Linked DNA regions of Homo sapiens: all the other regions are linked to region 1. Evidence: promoter capture Hi-C in human tissues and cell types (Jung and others, 2019). All regions are on one chromosome and are shown on one strand. Each heading gives the region's core, a stretch centred on a gene start or on the middle of the fragment in contact. The rest is flanking DNA. Distances are from core to core; before and after follow the strand shown. Region 1 holds the start of SMIM3 (small integral membrane protein 3). Region 2 holds the start of LOC124901108 (a long non-coding RNA gene). Region 3 holds the start of LOC105378228 (a long non-coding RNA gene).

Region 1 (4,198 bases), core at 834-3,333:
ATTGCCCAGGCTGGAGTGCAGTGGGGCAATTCGGCTCACTGCAGCCTCCGCTTCTGGGATTCAAGTGATTCTCCTGCCTCAGCCTCTCCAGTAGCTGGGATTACAGGCGCCCGCCACCACGCCTGGCTAATTTTTGTGTTTTTAGTAGATACAGGGTTTCACCATGTTGGCCAGGCTGGTTTCGAACTCCTGACCTCAGGTGATCTGCCCGCCTCGGCCTCCCAAAGTACTGGGATTACAGGCATGAGCCACTGCCCCTGGCCAAGGCCGTCTTTTGATGGCAGCCAATGTCATTAGACTACAACTTCTTCTGTACAAGTTCCCCAAAGTATCAGGGGCTCTCTAAGAGAGTATTACTTATTTCTTTCAGGTCCTGATGGTTTTCTCTTTGGAGTGGTTGTAATAGAGGACCAAGGAAGTTGTGAGCTGTTTTCTGGCTTTTGCTGTAACAAAAGCTTGTTGCTGAAATTGACTATTTCCCCCACTCCTGCATCCCAACACAGCATCCATTATTCTTCCCTTCAGTGCTCTCTTTGCAAAATCAGTCTAGCCTAGGCAGCAGACTTAACATGGTATGCTCCTGTGGGGATTCATACTTTATTTCTGGCTTGCTTTTAGGGTCCCAGGGCAAGTCGATATTAAAGAGATACTAATAAATTGCTAAATGGAAAGGGAGACTAGGACTCAGCTGGCTCCAGGCCTGAGCTTCTGCCTTGTCCCAGAGGGAAGCCAATGTTCACAGCAGGGCACATGGAGTTACCAGTTGTCCACCCAAAGGAACTCTCATCCCCTTCACTAACCAGGGAAAATGTCATATTAAGATTGTCCTCCTGTTGCAGTGAGCCGAGATCATGCCACTGCACTCCAGCCTGGGCGACAGAGCGAGACTCCGTCTCAAAAAAAAAAAAAAAAAAAAAAAAGATTGTCCTCCTTCAATCTTTTTTTACTATTAAATGAGAGCTTTGTATTAAACTATTCAGAATTGGGTTGTCCTTGTTTTTAGGTTCCCACACTATCTCTTTTGAATAAAACATGTTGTTGGGTGACAGCCCTTAGGGTTTTTCTCAAATCATTTCTCATGTGAATCCCCTTCATCCTCACTGTCCTTCCCTTAAGAAACTGGCGTGTGATAATGATGATTTAGAGGTCATTTCTGCTGACCTCATCCCTGAATCAGAGGAAACAGCATGGAGTAAGTTCTAAGTTCGGGGCCCACACCATATCAAATTTAGGCCTGGGGAAGGCAGTATGGCTCTTTCCAAACCCTCCAAAACACTACTGGGCTCCAAGACTGCTCAAGGTCTCACTGATAGTCAAGGCTTGTGCTCCTTTTTTTCAGAAGAGTAAGATTAAAGAAAACCACTGTGAATTAAAAAGTGTGGGTGCCAACATGGGACGGGAGTCCCCCCTCACTCCATGGATGACATAGAGGGGGCAGAAGATTACAGAATTGGCATTGTCCTGCGTGGAAGCTGGGCCACCCACAGTGGCGTGGGAAGCCTCTCAGATGCTGGATTCTAATGGGCTCTTGATCACCTTGGATTGGGCTATTTCATTGTTATCACAAAATAAACAGGATGCTCCAAGTCATGTTATGGCAGAGAACCAACCAGCTTCACACTGGTCCTCTAAACCAATCCTCACAACAGGACTGGGAGACAGGTGTTACCTTTCCCACTTTACAGAGAATGAAACAGAGTGGCAAAGCCTCCGAAGGACCCTACACTTCGGACATCGCAAAGCAGGATCTGAGTCCCGGCTCCTCTGTCCAAACCTACTTGCTAGGCTTTCTTTCCCATGTCTACTCTATAGCTGGAAAGGTCGTGGAGGACACATTTTAGGCCAACCCTCTCGGTTTACAATCCAGAGAGGGGAGACCCTCAGAAGCCAAGCGACATGTCCACGGCTACGCGGCGAGTGTGTGGCAACGTGGAAGGGGAGCCCGAGACGCCCTGGTCTCTCCCTTCTCTCGCAGGTTCCTTTCTCCCCGAACGCAGCCCGCAGGGGACGCTGGAGGAGGAGCTGAGCTGGAGTTGCCGGGGCCCCGGGACCGGGCGTTCCGGGGGCGGTCCCCAGCAGCCGCGCATTCCAGAGCCAGCAGCGCGTCCTGGCCGCTCCTGCGCTCTCCCGCCTCCCGGGGCTCGGAGGAGCCGGGGCACGTTCCAGGAGCTGCCTAGGGCTGAGGTTCCAGGCCTGGGGGTCGCTTCCAGCTGCCAGATCCCGTGCAGTCCTGGGGACCCTGAGAAGCACCGAGCCATCCCTGACCCAGGAACTTTCCGCAGACTCGCCGCCATCTGGGGTGAGTGGGGCCACCGGGGGATTGTTTGTGGGGCTCTGGCAGAGCGGAGCTCTTCGGATTCGCGACCTACCTCTAGTGCGGCCCCTTTCCCCGGGCTCCCAACGTTCTTCTTTATGTCCGGTCTCTCCTCCCCATTTCTCCCTTTTCATCACTTTTGTATTTCTTGCCCTCACCCCCTCCTTTTTCTCCTGCTGTCAGCTCTTAAGTTCGAGCCTCCTAGTGCACAGAATTTTGGGCCTGGGGGAGGCGGAGCTTGGGTGGGCGAACCCCAGCCCCACTCGGAGACTGGCTTCTCTCCGGGTCCGCTGCCCTTGCCTTCTCGGGAAGCCTCCTCCTCGGGCAGACTGCCACCTCCTGGCTCTCCAGGCCCAGCGTCAGGGTTCAGCGCCCGGGCCTGAGCACCTGCTTGGGCGCTGCGCTGGGTTTGGGTCTTTGCACTTACCTGTCCCGCTTTTCTCGAGGCCCCGTGTAGAAGGCGCCAGGAGTTTGGAGTCAGGAGTGGCGGGTTCCAGCCCTGGTTCTGTCACTAACTGCTTCACCATCCTTGTTTTTCCATCAGTGAAATTGGGAAAACATTTTCTGCGTGCAGAAAGCAAAGGAGAAAGGACATGAGCAAAGTATCTTGGAGAGAAGGCTTCCTTCAAGCTCCCTCCTGCTGGTTAGCTGTCCCTTTCCTGAGGACGTAGTTGTTCCAGTTGCTGGTTGTTTTGCTCCCTAGTCTCCCCCATGCCAGTTTCTTGAGGGTAGGGACTGCCTGTCTATCGTCATCTCTGAGGCATTCTCAGCTCTTGGAGCAGGGCCTGGCTAACAGTAGGTGCTCCATACATATGTACTGAGTGAAAGGATGAAAGGTGTAACCCCCCCCGCCCCCCCCACAAATTGAAACAAACCTCAGGGGCTGTTATTCTGATTGAGGGCCAGGCTGGGCTCTTACTTATGCAGCTGCACTTGTTTCTTCTGGACCAGCTGGAATCCTGCTGCACCTGGGGGCTGAGGAGTCTCCGGTTCATCTGTGGTGAATACTAAGGTCCTCAAAGCTCCAGGGTGTGGTGGTGAAGGCTGCGCAATCACACAAGTATCAGAGATTCCTTGAACATCTGCTATGATGCGTGCTGCTACTGCAGTGGCCACATAGTTTGGAAGGATTGGGGATGCCTGAATTAGGTGGAGGTGGGAGCGGGAAGAACAGGTACTCTGGGGGTTAGGAGACCCTCTGAATTACCCTAATGGAGGCATTTCCCCTCTCTGGCCCTTGTCTTCCCTATCTGTAAAATGAAGACATGGGAGTGGAACAGATGTTTGTCTGTGGTTGAGCATGACATGCTCTTTGGTTTATGCAGGCCGCACAGCAGCCATCTAGACACACGCAAAGCAGCACAGCTGAGCTTTAGGACATCATGTGCTTCTGCAGTGACAACTGAAAAAAACTAAAAAGTGTTTTCCTGCTCCAGCCGGGACCTCCTGTTCCCAGCTGTCCTGGGACTGTGAATCATGCTGTGGGGGTTACAAGTCATGCTTCATGAACTCTCCCACAAGTGACCTCTCCGAACCTCAGAACTGTGGCTCCATGACACTAAAGATCTGGGGAGTCCCAGAGAACAGCCAGAGAACCACTGAGTCGCGGTGAGGTGTTAGAGATGCAAAACAAATGAGAGACTCTGGGGGCCTGTGGTCAGGTCAGATCCTGGGCCCTTGGGGGTGACAGACCAAGGGGATAAGGGCCAGTCACAGCCTCAGATGCTTTCTCAGCCATACGCCAATCCTTTAAACGTTGTGCCTCCATTTCTTCTCTATGGATTGAAACATGCAAAGGAAATACCTCCAAGGAAAGAGAATATCTTGGTTGGGTGTGGCGGTGGTATAAAAAATGGGCACGTGTACTCACAAACACAGTTTATT
Region 2 (4,916 bases), core at 1,972-4,471, 160 kb before region 1:
CTTCCCCTCTGGGTTCAGAGTTCTCCTCTCTGAGATGAGGACAGCGTGTTCTGTGGACTCTATCAGCCATTTCTGCCAAGGCTCAAGTATTTTAGAGCTTGTGTCCAGATGAGGGTCATGAATCTGGGGGAAATGGAATTAGAAGTTGGTAGGACTCCCTCCCATGTCTGTGGAGTCTGCAGCAGGTGCTCTCCTACCCACAGAGGAGATCCGCCCTCATGGATGGGTTGGCCATCTGAGCGATGGCTGAGTCCAGCAACCCCAGGAGCTGTGGGGGTCCCTGGAGTCTGCAGCTGCTGAGAGCAGTGAGTACAAGCACAGACCTTGGCTGCCTCCATTCACATCCTGCTTTGCCATTTCCCACCCGTGTGACTCTGAACACAGTACTTACCTCTCCGTGCCTCAGTTTCCTCCTGTATAGACTGCACTGACACAGCAGGAGTGTCAGGTAAAGGGCTGGGTTCAGCACCTAGCAGGTGCTCAGTTAGTGGCAGCTGCTATTATTGTTTCGGGTCCCGACCCCCACAGCTCCTGCACAGAGGTGGGTGCTGTGGGGCTCAGGCTTGCATAGGGCCTGCCCAAGCTCCCCGACTGGGTTGGGAGTCCTCCTTCCTCCTTGGGAGGGAACCTTGAATTGGAGTGCTCCTGCCAACTCCTCCCTCCTGGCTTGGCAGCGTGAAGACAACGCCGGCCAAAAATATTTGTGTGGGTGGCGGAAAGTTAACTTTTCCGCCTCTCTCTTCTTTCCTGGAAACCGTGGCCACCGTCAAATACATCAAAACAGAAGCAGGGATAGAGTGAGGCGAGGCCCCTGCGGGGAGTCAGAGGAGCCCTGCCCCCTCCCCACGCCCACTCCTTCTGCCTCCGGCCATCTGGCTCTACGGTGGGGGGATGACGGAGGTGGGTATCCAAGTGCTTAGAATCAGGGGATCCTGCAATGCCACAGTTGGACGGATCCTCCAGCATCATCTGGCTCAGTCTCACCATGGTGTCCTCCGGGAATCTGACTACAGAGTGCGAAAAGCACCTGCCCCAGTTCACAGTCCTGTCTCTTCTGAGTGCTGCTGGCCTTTGTGAGATTCTAAGATTCTTTGAAACTCAAATGGCAGAAATCTGGCAGCAGCTGGTGAGTGAGAAAGCACCTGGAGATGAATGAGGGCCTGGAGCCTCTCCTCCATGTCTCTGAATCCACCATCATGGTCAAGGTGTCAGAGCTAGGTTGGAATCCCAGCCTGGCCACTTATTAGCTGTGTGCCTTAGGCAAGAAGTCACTTCACCTATCTGAGCCTCAATTTCCTCACCTCTGAAATGGGATAATAATAAGGTAATTCTCTCATAGGGTTGATGTGAGAAATTACGGCAATAACCTAAGTGAATGACCCAAGATAGAAGAGGTGCTTCTGTTCTTCCCCGGGGGGCAGAAGGTGGGCTTCTTTCTCCTGATTTCCCTGCCACTGAGGCTGCTATAACAGGTGCCTGGTTATCTTTCTGATCCGGATGGTTGTTTGCCTTTCCCCTGGTTGGCTCTGATTTTCCCTGGGGCTTGGTAATGCGCTTATCTCTCTGCCTGCCTGCCAGACTCTCCTGGCACAGTCCCAGCCAGAAACCAAGACCTTGACCCAGCCTGCTGCAGTGGGAGGTGCCTGACCCCTGCTTGGGGGCGGAGGCGTGACCACAGCAGCTGAGGTCAGTCCAGGTCCTCAGGTCACTCATGTCCACAGACTCTCACAATTTTCAGGATTCTCACTGCTCCCCATTTTGCAGTAGGATAAGTGAGAGTAAGAGAGTTCACACTTGCCTGAGTTCACACAGCTAAGTAGCAGCGGAATCCAGTCTTTAAGCAAGATCCCTTGATTCTAGGGTTTCCTCCCAAGTGTAATTGGCCATCTGCTCTGTCTTACGCACTACCTGCCCATCCTGGGCATCTCACCCATCTCCACCCTTTGCCTCCACAAATGATTTCTAGATATTTGTCCCCAGCCTGGAATTCTCCCCTGTTCTCTAGACCCCTATGTGGAACCGCCCACTGCTCATCTCCCCTGGAAATCCAAAACCTAACTCATCTCCCTGCTCCACTAAACAGCTGCTCCTTCTCATTTATTCCTGATCTCTATTAACAAAATCTCTGTCACCAGAGCTAGGAACCTGGGCTGCATCCTAGGCTCCTCCCTCTTCTCCACACCCACTCTCCATCTGCCTCCAAGCCCAGCCAGTTCTTCCACCCAAGTATCTCTCCCATCTACCCCCTCCTCACCACCCCTTACAGAAAGCCTCCATTCCCTCTTGCTTGGATTATCATCATTCTTAACATTTATATAAATAATCATACAATGATTATTGTTGTTCCTGCTATCATTCACAGCTCTCCTCACCACATTTTAAGGCTTCTTTATCCCTCTGCTATATCCCCAGTACTTTTTATGATGTCTGAAAAATAATAGGATCCTAAGAAATTTTTGTGGAATGAAAGAACAGCCAACATGTATTAAGGTATGGCTTAGAAACTGTGCTGAGTCCTCTGCGTGCATTTTTTCATGTAATCCTCAATGCAATGCGAAGTTAGAAATATTACAATACCCATTTTACAGACGGGGAAGTGGAGGTTTAGAGAGGTCCTGTGGCTGGCTTGTTGATCGTCACACAAATGGCAGAGCTAGGATTCTAACTGCAAGCCTGGGCACAGAAACTGAAAGCACACCACTGCACCATCTTCTTTTGTTTTTTTTGGCTGAGTTTCTGCTCTGTTGCCCAGGCTGGAGTGCAATGGGGCGATCTCGGTTCACTGCAACCTCCACCTCCTGGATTCAAGCGATTCTCCTGCCTCAGCCTCCCAAGTAGCTGGGATTACAGGTGCCTACCACTACGCCCAGCTAATTTTTGTATTTTTAGTAGAGACAGCGTTTCACCATGTTGGCCAGGCTGGTCTTGAACTCTTGACCTCAGGTGATCCACCCGCCTCGGCCTGCCAAAGTGCTAGGATTACAGGCATGAGCCACCACCCCCGGACTGCACAGTGTTTCTTGTTGCACAATCTCCTCCAAGGGCTCCTATCCCCAGTTTGCATCTTAGGTCACACCACTCCTGTGATTCCTGTGGTGTAGGTACCTTTGCTGGGATATGAGTGAATTCTTTCTAGGTGGTGTCTAGATACGTGTTGTTAAATAACTAGATATTTATTTAATGTGCATTGGGGGAAAAGGACTGAGCACAATATACTTGTGGTTTCTCTGCAAATATTGCTTAAGATAATTCTAAAGTAATAGAAGTAAGTGATTTCAAGTTGATTAATGGAAAAATATTAGATAAAGTTTCAGGTAGCATGAGGATGTGGTGAAAATCCAGGATGTTAAATGACTGGAGCTTTCGAAACACTTCCCTATGGAAGTGTGGAACCTGCACCCCAAATGCCGACCAGTTCTCAGGGTCACCTGAAGAGGAACAGGCTTCAGAAATTCAGCCTGGAACCCCAAGCGAGCTTTCTCATGTGCTGTTTCTTTCTTCCCTATGCCGATAGATTGCCCCAAAGCGGCCTCACACCAGAGACGGGTTAAGAAGAGGGATTGGAGGTCCACCACTCCACTAGCCCAGGAAGGACTTATCTTTCGTCTCAGCCAGACCTCACCCCAATTCTGTGAATCAGCGGAGGAAGGCAAAAGTGCAGAGAGTCAGAGGAGGCTGTGTAAGGAGCAGAGACCAGGGCTCACACAGCTGGCCCCAGCCCAGGCCCTGGCCCAGGCCCAGGAGCCTGCTTCCCTGCATCGCTGAGGAAGAACAGCACCATGCTGGGTCCTCACCTCCCACCTCCGCCCCTTGCACCCAGCGAAGGGAGGCCTACCCCCTGCGCCTTCCAGATCCCTGATGGAAGCTACAGGTGTCTGGCTCTGGAAGCCGAGGAGAGCAGCGGTGAGGAGGGCCTGCAGGGAGAGGTGGGGCCTACCGACCTGGAAGAGGATGAGGGGGTCAGCAGGAGTGGGGACGACTCTGCCTGCAGAGTCACCCAGGGGACACCGCAGCTGCCCAAAGCCCTGGGCATCCAACCACCCAGCTGCTCCAGAGAGGAACAAGGGGCGTCCCAGCACGACGACAGGGCCAGCCAGGACTGGGATGTAGTGAAGGCCGGGCAGATGATGACAGCCAGCCCCAGCCCTGGCCCTGGGCCCAGAGTGGCCCAGAAACCAGGTAAGCTTGTGTTCCTTTTCCCTTGGACTACCAGAGTCACTGGAGACCCCCCAGGTCCTTAGTACAAGGGCTCCTGACCATATTTTTCCATGATCCACAGTAATTCATCACAGTCCCATGGGCATGCCCAGATTAACAGCTGTGGAGAGATAGGAGCGACAGCGAGCTACGTGCAGTTCCAGCTGCACCACATCTAACCCCACTCCTTTCTCTGCCAAAGAGGGCACGTGAGAAGGCAGTGAGAGAAAGCCACATTATCTTGCTTGGCTAAAAAAAAAAAAAATGCCCATTTCCCACTCTCGTCTGCCTTTTAATCATTAGCGGCAACAAATCACTGCGGTGTCCCAAGCAACCGATGGGGCAGAACCCTCTCATTAAATGGATTGAGTGCTGGCTACGTGGGGGTGCTGGGGACGCGGCACTGGACCAAACGGATGTGGTTGCTGACCTCATGGAGCTTGGGAGGTAGAGACTGAAGCCTTTGATAGAATTTGACCCCCCAATTTTACAGGTGGGGAAACTGAGACTCAGAGTGAGGAAAAAGACAGCTAGAGGTCACTCAGCGTGTTAGTAGTGGCTGAGCTAGGCCCACGTTCCTCGCCTAGGCCTTGGTTTTTCATTTGTTAGAGGTGACAAGGGCAGATAGAACACCACCTAGGCTGCAGTGAGATCCCATGACAGCGTGTGGGGAGAGCACAGTGTGCGCGGCACGGAAGGAAGGAAGGGCAGGAATGATG
Region 3 (4,695 bases), core at 374-2,873, 220 kb after region 1:
CAAAATTTTGGGTAAAGCAATTTCCATGGCAGTTTGATTTTTTTTGTTTCTTTTTCTTTTTTTTTTTTTTCTTTGAGATGGAGTCTTGCTCTGTAGCCCAGGCTAGAGTGCAGTGGTGCAATCTCGGCTCACTGAAACCTCTGCTTCCCAGGTCCTGGTTCAAGCAATTCTCCTGCCTCAGCCTCCTAAGTAGCTGGGATTACAGGCACGTGCCACCATGTCCAGCTAATTTTTGTATTTTTAGTAGAGATGGGGTTTCACCTTGTTGGCCTTGTTCATGTCTTGAACTCCTGACCTCGTGATCTGCCCGCCTCGGCCTCCCAAAGTGCAGGGATTACAGGCGTGAGCCACCGTGCCCAGATGGCAGTTTGATTTTTTTTGTTTTTGTTTTTGAGACAGAGTCTCACTCTGTTGCCCAGGCTGGAGTGCAGTGGCGTGATCTCAGCTCCCACTGCAGTCTCCGCCTCCCGGGTCTAAGTGATTCTCCTGACTCAGCCTCCTGAGTAGCTGGGACTATAGGCACGCACCACCACGCCTGGCTAATTTTTTGTATTTTTAGTAGAGATGGAGTTTAGTAGAGATGGGGTTTCACCACGTTGGCCAGGATGGTCTTGATTTCCTGACCTAGTGATCCACCTGCCTCGGCCTCCCAAAGTGCTGGGATTACAGGCATGAGCCACTGCACCTGGCCCTAGCAGTTTGATTTTTAAAGGTGAAACCTCCCCAGACTCCAAAGAACACTAAGACCAAACAGTACCAAAGGAGAACATCACTCTTTCACCAGGCCCTCTGCTTAGAATAGCAGCACCAAAGCCTGGATATATGCAATGGCAATGCCATCCCAGTTTTCCATTCAACAGTAAACTCCGCATTCCAAACAATATTGGGGCCAAATAGCATTGCAACTGCGAGATAAAATTCTAAGGAGAGTTTAATACTAGACCTCAGAACCTCTGCCAAGGGCATCCTCTTTGGAGAGGTTGAGGTCCGGAGGATTCCCCTCTGGGGCTTCCCCTAGTGGGGCCCAATCTTAAGAGTGTCAGACGTCTCTGACCTTAGGTGGGCACCAGTCCTGCTTGCATGTTTTCCCTCTAAAGGGAATGGCCTACTATGAGCTTTCATTTTGTCCCTGGATGAAGGCCTTGACTTTTAGCATCCTTATAATTTGATAAGGCCACACTTTCCCATGTTTCCCATTCCATGAACTTAATAACTGGAGGCTGGATGTGTTTCTTTTGCTCTTAGCCAGTTGACTAGGGAAACGGAAGAATTACGCATAAGAAAAGGTTTAAGTTGCCTGAAACAGGCGAGTTTGCTCTGAGCTGTGCCACACATAGGGATCAGGGACCACACCCAGAAAAGATTTAAAAAAGAGTCCTTCTCCCTTCTGGGCAGGGCAATTATCCCCATTCACTCCATGGTCTTCAGGCAATATTGGGGATTGATCCCAGCCAATTTCCCTCAATTTCCAAAGAGCTACTAGGAAACAGCTGCTAAAAGACCAATAAAGAAGAAAAGGAAAAAAAAAAAGAAAAAGACCCAGGTCCCTTAGGCAAACCAGGTGGTGGCGGTTAGGCTTCTTCACATGAAAACCCCTTAGTATTCACCAGCCATGGCCAGAAACCTGCAGTTTACCTCCATGTTTACACGCTGCTCACCAAGGGTCCCGAGTGGGAAAGGAAAAGAGAGAGAGAGATTTCCCTGTATGTAAAAAGGGAAAGGAGAAAAATAAATCCCAAACTTTGGGCTTACCTTCTCCTGGCTGGCTCACCAAAATATGTTACCAGTGGAGGGTGTCCAGGTGCTTGGCATTTTGAACAAAGAATTGGACAAAATGCACAAACAAAGCAAGGAAAGAATGAAGTAACAAAAGCAGAGATTTATTGAGTACACTCCACAGTGGGAGCAGGCCCAAGCAGCCACTCAAGGGCCGGGATACAGGATCTTCTTGGGTCCAAATACCCGCTGGAGGTTTCCCATTGGCCACTTGGTGTTCACGCCATGTAAATAAAGTGGTGGCCCCCAATCAGTCTGATTGTTTGCAGACGGAAACCAATCAGAGGCTGAAGTGAAGTTACAAAGTTACACTCTTAGGCAAACGCCTGGTTGCCAAAAGCAACCAATCAGAGGTATTTTCTTTTTCTTTTTCTTTTTTTTTCTTTTTGAGACGGAGTCTTTCTCTGTCACCCAGGCTGGCGTGCAGTGGCCCGATCTCGGCTCACTGCAAGCTCCACGTCCCGGGTTCACGCCATTCTCCTGCCTCAGCCTCCCGAGTAGCTGGGAGTACAGGTGCCCGCCACCACGCCCGGCTATTTTTTTGTATTTTTAGTAGAGACAGGGTTTCACCATGTTGGCCAGGATGGTCTCGATCTCTTGACCTCGTGATCCACCCTCCTCAGCCTCCCAAAGTGCTGGGATTACAGGCGTGAGCCACTGCGCCTGGCCCAGAGGTACTTTCAATTAACCATCTGCCATGCAGAAAAGGTGGGAGTTTGCAAAGAGAGTAGCCTCTGGTCCTTTTGTTACTTAGGCATGGAAAGTTAGGGTTTTCCTTTCAATGTAGTTCTACGAAGTCAGCGTGAAATGGCCTTAGGTTTCCTATTCTCCTGCCTCACTGGTATCCAAGGGACTCTGCCATTAGGCTAGCTGTGGAGGGATGGAGAGAGAGCTGAGGCCTCAAATGCCAGTATTCCTTCCTTCCAGATTTGCGTGTAAGACCAGATAATCTTCCAGACCAAACAGTATCTGTTGATGAGTATTAGGCTCGAATGAGAAGGAGAGAGAAGTGGAGCACTGGATTGAAGAGAAAGCAAAAAACCTTCCTAGATCAACAAGGAAATAGCCTCTTCTAGAATCCAGATAGGGCCCTGGACTCCTGTGGGATAATGTAGTGGGTGAAAAAATTGGTAGTGAAGTCCTCGGATATGGGGATGCACTTGGAAGTCTTGGGAACAAGGAAGAGAGACATCCTGTGGTGGTGATTTTTAGATCCAACACCCAGGGGCTTGGGTGCCTTTGGGGGGATTAGTAGAAGAGATCGACACATTGAGGGAGGTTCAGGATAACTGTCTGAAAATGAGAGATTTTTATTGCTTATACTGATGTCCCAATAGGGTCTGTATGTGCTTCAAATAGGTAGAAAAGAATGAAGTCCGAGCCTGAAGATAACAATATCAGTCAGAATTTTAGGATTGTGAATACCTGTCCACAGAAATAGCTGGGCCCTGAGCCTCTGCTGATGATGTAGGAATGGAGGCAGTTAATAAGCTTTAAAGTCATAGGGTCTCAGGGCTAGGGTATGGTGAGGACACTTTGCCACCCCTAAGGTTCAAAGCCTCTTGGACTGGAGGAGGTTGTTAACAGATATTCTAGGCAGAAAAGCTGTGTCAGGTTGTGGTGTATGAAGAGGGAGAATTTGACACCAAATGGTCAGCTGGCCATCTGCTCACCTGTTCCCCTGTGCTCCCTACTCCCACAGGGTCTGCTTACAGAACAAGGCACAGCAAGGAGGCAAGACACAAGCAAGAAATGTGCTTGATGTTACCCACTGCAGTCCTTCTTCCACTCTGGAGGATTCTGAAGACTCAGAAGAGGGACAGGCAATGGATTCAGTCTAAACCCCAGGACCAGGACACTGCCTCAGCTTCGAAGCCTGGATGCAATGCTCCAGGGTATAACCACTGCCCAGAAGCACAGCTAGTACAAGCTGCAGCCTCAATCCAGGCAAGGAGCCAACTCCAACAGGTCAGGCTCCAAGGGATGAAGACTGAAAACATGAATGTGTTGTGCCACTAACTCTAGCGTTTGCTTTTCCTTGTGTTTTTGCATGCATTGTAGACCTTGGCATCAGCATTTGGCTAGCTTTAAGACAGAAACTGAGAAGCCTTTTGTGTTTTATGCGTCAACTTGACTGGGTCACAGCATGCCCAAATATTTGGTTAAACACGATTTCTAGGTGCATCTGTGAGGATTTTCTGGACGAGACTAATATTTGAATTTGAATCAGTGGACTAAGTAAGGCAGACTGCCCTCCCCAGTGTGGGTGGCCCTCATCCTTCTCTCTGCCTGACACTCTTCTAGCTGGAACATTTGTCTTCTCCTACCCTCGGACTCAGACTATGACTGGAATTGATATCATTGACTCTCCTAGTTCTTCAGACTCAGATTGCTCTCCCGGGACTTCTCAGCTTCCAAATCACATGAACCAATTCATTATAGGAAATTTTTTTATATATCCTATTAATTCTGTTTCTCTGGAGAACCCTGATTAATACAGATTTATTTTCCTACACTCCAGTAACTCTCCACTACTCCCTCCCTCAACCCCTGGTAACTATCCTACTTTCTGTCTCTATAAATTTGACTATTCTCAGTACCTCATATAAGAGGAATCATGCAGTATTTGTCCTTTTGTGACTGGCTTATTTCATTAGCATAATGTTTTCAAGGTTTATTCATGTTGTAGCATGTATCCAAATTTAATTCCTTTTTGAGGCTGAATGATACTCCATTGTATGTATATACCATATTTTGTTCATTCATCCATTGATAAACATGTTGTTCCCACATCTTGGCTATTAGGAATAATGTTGCTGTGAACATGAGTGTACAAATATCTGAGTCCTTGCCTTTTTTTTTTTTTTTTGGACACAGAGTCTCTCTCTGTTGCCCAGACTGGAGTAAAGTGGTGTGATT

Evidence for each region. The method cuts DNA at HindIII sites, captures the fragments that hold promoters and counts their contacts. A contact is called where the count stands out against the background at its distance.
Region 2: a contact is called between a fragment that was not itself captured here and the fragment with the promoter of SMIM3 in region 1, in 1 of the 25 tissues and cell types used here (aorta).
Region 3: a contact is called between a fragment that was not itself captured here and the fragment with the promoter of SMIM3 in region 1, in 1 of the 25 tissues and cell types used here (H1 embryonic stem cells).

Annotation. Positions count from the first base shown.
Region 1 is chr5:150,776,674-150,780,871 of GRCh38, forward strand. It overlaps SMIM3 (small integral membrane protein 3), which reads left to right and starts at 2,084. Exons shown (of 2, transcript NM_032947.5): 1 at 2,084-2,299. It overlaps LOC124901110, which reads right to left and starts at 3,728. Exons shown (of 2, transcript XM_047417995.1): 1 at 3,234-3,728; 2 at 1-2,878. The coding sequence starts at 2,448. The coding sequence ends at 1,807. RefSeq lists a silencer at 1,979-2,168 and an enhancer at 2,606-3,467. The HindIII fragment of the contact is 12,753 bases long and covers 1-3,709 here.
Region 2 is chr5:150,614,589-150,619,504 of GRCh38, forward strand. It overlaps LOC124901108 (a long non-coding RNA gene), which reads right to left and starts at 2,244. Exons shown (of 3, transcript XR_007058996.1): 1 at 392-2,244; 2 at 1-123. It also overlaps a transcript of SYNPO not described here. RefSeq lists a silencer at 1,541-1,728. The HindIII fragment of the contact is 4,717 bases long and covers 864-4,916 here.
Region 3 is chr5:150,996,186-151,000,880 of GRCh38, forward strand. LOC105378228 (a long non-coding RNA gene) reads right to left here and starts at 4. Exons shown (of 3, transcript XR_007059002.1): 1 at 1-4. RefSeq lists a silencer at 489-655. The HindIII fragment of the contact is 5,174 bases long and covers 1-4,210 here.